2 separate regions of the Homo sapiens genome follow, and region 2 is linked to region 1. Evidence: promoter capture Hi-C in human tissues and cell types (Jung and others, 2019). All regions are on one chromosome and are shown on one strand. Each heading gives the region's core, a stretch centred on a gene start or on the middle of the fragment in contact. The rest is flanking DNA. Distances are from core to core; before and after follow the strand shown. Region 1 holds the start of EEFSEC (eukaryotic elongation factor, selenocysteine-tRNA specific). Region 2 has its middle 35 kb from the start of RAB7A.

Evidence for each region. Contacts are between HindIII fragments. The study calls those that stand out against the background at their distance.
Region 2: a contact is called between a fragment that was not itself captured here and the fragment with the promoter of EEFSEC in region 1, in 1 of the 25 tissues and cell types used here (dorsolateral prefrontal cortex).

What each region holds. Positions count from the first base shown.
Region 1 is chr3:128,151,377-128,155,290 of GRCh38, reverse strand. It overlaps EEFSEC (eukaryotic elongation factor, selenocysteine-tRNA specific), which reads right to left and starts at 1,810. Exons shown (of 7, transcript NM_021937.5): 1 at 1,468-1,810. The coding sequence starts at 1,783. It also overlaps a transcript of RUVBL1 not described here. RefSeq lists a silencer at 1,300-1,819 and an enhancer at 1,950-2,179. The HindIII fragment of the contact is 4,118 bases long and covers 1-2,197 here.
Region 2 is chr3:128,689,065-128,692,877 of GRCh38, reverse strand. No RefSeq gene overlaps it. Among named protein-coding and RNA genes, the nearest start is that of RAB7A, 35 kb to the left of the region's middle. The HindIII fragment of the contact is 7,361 bases long and covers 1-3,813 here.

The DNA.
Region 1 (3,914 bases), core at 561-3,060:
ATATAAAAATTAGCCAGGTGTGGTGATGTGCACCTGTAGTCCCAGCTACTTGGGAGGCTGAGGCAGGAGAATCGCTTGAACCGGGGAGAAAGAGGTTGCAGTGAGCCAAGATTGCACCACTGCACTCCAGCCTGGTAACAGAGCGAGACTCCATCTCAGAAAAAAACAAAAAAACAAAAAAACAAAAAACGGGTCTTTTCATTTGCAGAGATAGGAGGGGTACAGAATTTAGGACAGAGGAGTGGGTAAGGGAATGTTTGTCTTATTTGTGATGTTCTATTTCTTCACAAGTAGCATGTATTCATGTATTACATGTATAATTAAAAATTAATGGTACCTCTTTGTGGGGCATTTTGGCAGTACCCACCACGACCGAAAACACACATGCCCCTTGCCCCAGCCAGTTATTATCTATTATCCTACATATATGCGAACATACCAAAGAGTTCTGTTCTAGAATATTCACTGCAAAATGGTTTGTAAATACTGGAAACAGCATAAACGTCCATCATTAAAAGATTTGTTCAGAAAATGTTGGTACAGGCCGGACGTGGTGGCTCACGCCTGTAATCCCAGGACTTTGGGAGGCCAGGGCGGGCGGGTCATGAAGTCAGGAGTTTGAGACCAGCCTGACCAACATGGTGAAACCCGTCTCTACTGAAAATACAAAAAAATTAGCCGGGCGTGGTGGCGCGCGCCTGTAATCCCAGCTACTCAGGAGACTGAGGCAGGACAATCGCTTGAACCCAGGAGGCGGAAGTTGCAGTGAGCCGAGATCGTGCCACTGCACTCCAGGCTGGGCGACAGAACAAGACTCTGTCTCAAAAAGAAAAAAAAAAAAAGAAAAAGAAAATGTTGGTACAAGGGTGCAGTTGAATTCTATGTGAGCTTTAAAAAGAATGATGTAGCTTTGTGTACAGATATGGGGCACTCTCCAGACACAATGTTGAGTGAAATCGTGTCTAAAAGGATGAGGGAAAGAGGGATTTATACATACACACAGATATGCTTGTATTGACGTGGAGCCTTTCTGAAATGATATACAAAAACTGGTAGCAGCGGTTGGCTCTAGGAACGGGAATCAGACCAAATGACAGGTGAATGAAGACAGCCTTTGTATGTATACCCTTTTTGTAGCTTGTGAGTTTTCTTATTTTGAGTTTTCTTTACTTGACCATGTATTATAAACACATTTGGTAGGGATTTTTTGATTTTTTTTTTTTTTTTTTTTTAAGGAAGGCGCCTTGCAGCTCGGTTCTGCTGGATGGGAAAAGCTGAATCTCAAAGCCTCCGCTCACTTGCTGCGGAGCCCTAGGCAAGTCACGTCCGCCTCTTGGGGCGTCAGGAGCCCCACCAATGAGGTGGGGCGATTTCCCGTCCCGGCAAAGGCTCGAGCGAATTCGGACACGGGGCCCGGTCGCTCCGCCCGCGTCCCTGAGCCCGGCTCCCGCCCCGGCCCGCGCTCACCGCCGATGATGGTCCGGATGAGGGAGGCGTGCCCGGGGCAGTCGACCAGCGTGACCTGAAGCAGTGGCTCGCCGGGCTCGGGCTCGGCCTCGGGCGCTGCCTGGAACTCGGGCAAAGACGACCGCAGGCGCGCGGGCAGCGGCACCGAGAAGCACGAGAAGCCCAGATCGAGCGTGATGCCGCGCTCGCGGCTCTGCGGCTGCTTGTCAAAGGCGGCGGTGGAGGCTGTGGTGCTTAGCGCCCGCGCCAGCGCCGTCTTGCCGCTGTCGATGTGGCCCAGCACGCCCACGTTCACGTTCACCCGCCGCCCTGCCATGCCGCCGCCGCCGCCTCGGACACCCGCCCGGCCCGCCCCTCACCTCCCTCGGTAGTCGCCGCGGTCCGGCCCGTTAAGTTGCCCCCCCGTAACCGGCGCGCTGTGCACACCCGTTCCGGCCCGGAAGCTTCCGCCCTCCTGAGGCTCACGGGCACAGCCGAGCGCCGTGCTCCGAGTGGGTGGTCTAGGAACTGGAGGTCACCGTAGGCAGGGTTTCTCTCTCACGTGGCTCCTCCTGCCTGAAGCCTCTAGGAGCCCGAGATGGAGGGATCCTTCTGAGAAGTGAAGCCATTTGGACTTTCTGGGTGAGTGGAGACTTGGAGAACTTTTCTATAGCTATCAAGAGGATTGTAAAATGCACCAATCAGCGCTCTGTAAAACGCACCAATCAGTGCTCTGTAACATGCACCAATCAGCAGGATCCTAAAAGAAGCCAATCACAGGGAGGATTGAAAAAAGGGCGCTCTGATAGGACAAAAACGGAACATGGGGGGGCGAAGGGGGGCGGGGGGGGCGGGGTGGGCGGGGGGAAGACGGGGGCGGGGGGGGCGGGAAGACGGGGGCGGGGGGGAGGGCGGGGGGACGGCGGGGGGCGGGGGAGGGCGGGGGGACGTGGGGGAGGGGGCAAATAAGGGAATAAAAGCTGGCCACCCCCGCCAGCAGCAGCAACCCTCTCAGGTGCCCTTTCGCATTGCAGAAGCTTTTTGCTCTTCACAATAAATCTTGCTGCTGCTCACTCTTTGGGACTGTGCCATCTTTAAGAGCTTTAACACTCACTGCGAAGGTCCGCGGCTCCATTCTTGAAGTCAGCGAGACTAGGAACCCACTGGAAGAAACCAACTCCGGACACACTTCCAATCATTCATACATTTCAGCAAGATCTTACCAAGTGCCTGGTGGGTTCCGCTGGGCTACAGTGCCCGCTAATATTACATTCAGGGGGTGAGGGCTAAGTCAAACAATACAGCCTGAACCAGACCATTTCAGAGAGCGAGAAGTCTCCTAGGGAAAATAAAAGCTGAGATAAAAAGGAGCAGGAGAGGGAGGATGGACAGCTACCTAACTGTGGGTCAGGGAAGACATCTAGGAGTTGCTGTTTGAGTTGAAACTCCAGTGTTGAGAAGGAGCCAACCATGGGAAAAGATGGTTTGAAGATGGAAGAGGACAACATTATCTCTGACTCAGAAATTCTCACCCTGAGAGTCTGTAGCCTGGGCTTAGGAGAGGCCACAAACCTCTAAATTGAACGCACAATGTGTTGTGATGTGCTCTTGCTAGACAGAGGGTCGACAACTCTCACTAGATTCTGAAGTGTCTAGAACCACAAAAAAGGTTGTCAGCCATAGTCACCAACCAGAGGTAACAAACCTAAGTGTCTGCTCTGGCCAGGTGGTGGGTAAATCAAAGAAGAGAAGTTAAAAGAGTCTAAGATGACAGGGAGTGGTGGGGACCTGGGAGACCTGGAGAGCCCTTTTCCTGTGCAAAGAGGGAAGCCACTGCTCAGTCTCAGCCAGTGATACCAGGCAGGAATGCTAGCCCAACATTGCCTCCTCCTTCCATTTTTCTGGAGAAGAGAGTGTTTTTGTAACACTGTGGCGGTGGAGCACAAAGTTCACAGGATCTTACCTTTGCCCTCTGTGATGAGCCAGACCATGTGCGGATGTATTCATGCTTGCAGTAACTGCCTCCTTCGTTCCACCACTCTCCACTAGGAACAGAGTCCATGTCATAGACTGAATTGTGTCCCTCTCAAATTCATATGTGGACACCCTGACCCCCAGTGTGATAGTATTTGGAGATGGGACGTTTGGGAGGTTAGATGAGATCATGAGAGCGGGCCCTTGTGATGGGATTAGGGTCCTTACAAGAAGAGAACAGAATCTTTGTTTCCGTTTTCCCACCTTGCAAATAGGAAACTGTAAAAATACGCCTCCCATTAAAAAAAATCTAGTAGTAAAAGCAGTAAACGTATTTAAAAGGGAGGGTTAGTAAATAGGTAATAAGAGCTTTAGAGGCTTTATGTACCTCTGAGAAATATTTCAACTAACAAAGACTTTGTACAGGGCCTGGCTTCAAATAAACCTCATTTCTTACCTCTGTTTTAAACAGAATCCTGAAATGGTAATGAAAA
Region 2 (3,813 bases), core at 797-3,296, 540 kb before region 1:
GTGACTGGGTAAGAGTAGGAAAAATCACTTAGGTTTGTTCCTCTATCTCACACAGATATTAAGTATGTTCAGATTGCTGTGCAACCCTTGCTTATTTTGAAAATGGGTTTTCTGTTGTTGAGTTTTAGGAGTTCTGCATGCATTCTGGATATTAATCTCTTATCAGATATATGATTCACAAATATTTTCTCCTATTCTGTGTGTTGTGTCAAAAACACAATTTCAACACATTGAGTTTTAAAGATTTGGCTAGATGTGGTATCTCATGCTTGTAATCTCCTTACTTTGGGAGGCCGGGGTGGGGGGATCACCAGAGCCTAGGAGTTTAAGGTTACAGTGAGCTAGGATTGCACTACTGCACTGTAGCCTGGGTGACAGAGCAAGACACTGTCTGTAAAAAAAATAAAGATCTAATTAGCTTTTATTGGTGATTCATGAACTGAGCAACATCCAGCCTACAAAATAGACAGGAGCTCTACCAGGCATGGCAGAGCAGTAGGTTTTTCTAAGGCAGGCAGCTTGACCAGGAACAAGGAAACAGCATAGTGGAAAAAGTGGATTGGTTGGCTGGGCGCGGTGGCTCATGCCTGTAATCCCAGCACTTTGGGAGGCCAAGGAGGGCAGATCACGAGGTCAGGAGATCGAGACCATCCTGGCTAACATGGTGAAACCCCGTCTCTACTAAAAATACAAAAAAAATGAGCCGGGCTTGGTGGCGGGCGCCTGTAGTCCCAGCTACTTGGGAGGCTGAGGCAGGAGAATGGCGTGAACCCGGAAGGCGGAGGTTGCAGTGAGCCGAGATTGCGCCACTGCACTCCAGCCTGGGCTACAGAGCGAGACTCCATCTCAAAAAAAAAAAAAAAGTGGATTGGTTAACATTAGGTTCCTTCGGGTTACTTTCCTTGCATGGCTTAAAGCAGAGGGGACTTCCTTATCAAGCAGCTTAGGTTGAATGGGCCCCTTTTGATTGGTTGCTGTGAATCTATTTTTTTGTAAAACTGACCTATTGGGGATTTGACTGTTGCCTCTCTCCTGATTTCTCAGAAGGTCAGATTTTTTTTTTTTTTTTTAGACAAGAGTTTTGCTCTGTTGCGCAGGCTGGAGTCCAGTGGCACGATCTCAGCTCACGGCAACGTTTGCCTCCTGGGTTCATGCAATTCTCCTGCCTCAGCCTCCCAAGTAGCTGGGATTACAGACATGCACTACCACACCCAGCTAATTTTTGTATTTTTAGTAGAGATGGGGTTTCACCATGTTGGTCAGGCTGGTCTCGAACTCCTGACCTCAAGTGATCCACCCGCCTCGGCCTCCCAAAGTGCTGGGATTACAGGCGTGAGCCACCACGCCCAGCCCTAAGGTCAGATCTTATAAGCAAACAGCTTAGGTTTCAGTTTGGTGACATGGAACCTTAGCATGAGTGACTCCATTTTGGGTCAGCCTGTAGGGGCCTAGTGTAGGAGGAGCTCAGTACAAATCAATGGCCTCCATTTGGCCAGGCACTGTGGCTCACACCTGTAATTCTAGCACTTTCAGGGGCCGAGGTGGGAGGATCCCTTGAGCTCAGGAGTTCAACAATAGCCTGGGCAGTATGATGAAACCTCTTCTCTACAAAAAAATAGTAGTCCCAATTACCGGGGAGGATGAAGTGGTAAGATCGCTTGAGCCCAGGAGGTCAAGACTGCAGTAAGTCATGATGGCATCGCTACACGCCAGCCTGGGCAACAGAGTGAGACCGTGTCTCATAAAACAAACAAACAAAAAAACCAAATCAATGGCCTCCCATAAATATACCAGAACCCTTTGTTTTTCTTTGATGCTGTTCAGGCTCAGAAAATGATACCCCAAAGTATGCTGCTTTAGCATGCTGAGTGCTTTGAACTAAAGGAGACTGAAAGGTTCCAGAAGCAAAGTCTCTCTCTGACCTTCTCCTGCCCTCCTATCTCCCATCCCTCTTTCTCCACTGAAGTGAGAATCAGAACCCTTCTTCCCAAGGCAGGTTGTAGTAACTAGAATCCCACTCCCCCAGAGCTAGCCACAAAACCTAGAAAAGTTACTCTGTCTAGGCTGGGCACGGTGGCTCATTCCTGTAATCCCAGCACTTTGGGAGGCCGAGATGGGCGGATCACCTGAAGTCAGGAGTTCGACACCACCCTGGCCAACATGGTGAAACCCCGTCTCTACTAAAAATACAAAAAAAAAAAAAAAAAAAAAAAGTTGGGCGTGGTGGCACACGCCTGTAGTCCCAGCTACTCAGGAGGCTGAGGCAGGGGAGGTTGAGGCAGGAGAATTGCTTGAACCCAGGAGGCAGAGGTTGCAGTGAGCTGAGATTATGCCACTGCACTCCAGCCTAGATGACAGAACAAGACTGTCTCAAAAAAAAAAAAAAAAGAAAGAAAAAAAAAGCGAGGTTACTCTCCTCTTCTCCCTTGAAGACCCTCATTCCAGAAGAGTCCTGCCGATACCTAGGGCAAAGAAATGCTACACTGAGAGACCAAGAAGAATTTGAACCTTACTGGGTTTCTTCCCCTCAGTGTATTACTATTAGATCACACCCTTTTTGTCCAATCATATTTCTACATGGCTGTCCATTCTTCATTCAACCTAAGCATACAAATAGTTTTCCCTTGGTCTTTAGGTCTTCATTTCCAGAAGCTCCTGTATTGTGTAAAATGTTGTAAATAAGTTTGTTATTATTTTCTCTTGTAATTCTGTCTTTTGTCATAGGCATGTTGGCCATGACCTTTATGATTGGTGAGGAAATGTATCAAAGCTTTCCAACCCTTCAATGCACAAAAGTTAATTTCAATGAGGTCTAATTTGTCTTTTTTTTTGAGACAGAGTCTCACTCTGTAGCCCAAGCTGGAGTGCAGTGATGCAATCTTGGCTCACTGCAACCTCCTCCTCCAGAGCTCAAGCGATTCTCGCCTTGGCCTCCTAAGTAGCTGGGACTACAGGAGCACGCCACCATTCCCAGCTAATTTTTCTGTATTTTTAGTAGAGATGGGGTTTCACCATGTTGCCATGGGTGGTCTCGAACTCCTGAGCCCAGGTGATTCACCCGCCTCAGCCTCCCAAAGTGCGTGAGCCACCACACCCGGCCCCAGTTTGTCTATTTTTCTTTTGTTGCCTGTGCCTGTGGTGTCATAGCCACAAAATCATCACCAAATCCAAAATCATGAAGCTTTCCCTCCATCCTTGCTTCTAAGATTTTTATAGTTTTAGCTCTTATATTTTTTTTTTTTCAGGCGGAGTCTTGCTCTGCTGCCCAGGCTGGAGTGCAGTGGCGCGATTTTGGCTCACTGCAACCTCGGCCTCCTGGGTTCAAGCGATTCTCCTGCCTCAGCCTCCCGAGTAGCTGGGATTATAGGCGCACATCACAACACCTGGCTATTTTTTTTCAGTAGAGACAGAGTTTCACCATGTTGGCCAGGCTGGTCTTGAACTCCTGACCTCAGGTGATCCACCGGCCTCGGCCTCCCATAGTGCTGGGATTACAGGCGTGAACCACCACGCCTAGCCAGCTCTTACTTTTATGTCTTTGAGAGTGTATTGTGTAGTGAAAACACCCTGTAAACCACATCTTTCCTCTACTCTCACATGACAACAATCATCAACATCAAGACTTCTGTGGCCAAATGTGTAGGGGGTTTTCCCCACACATCAAGCAGTGGACACCAGGTAGGTGTCCTCTAATTCAGTTCCGACACTATCTGATAGTGTCAGATCTCACAGGTTGATTGCTCATTCTCCAAGACCACCCTCTCCCCCAACACCAGTGGCAAGTCCAGACCAGAACTCCAGAATCTTTTTTTT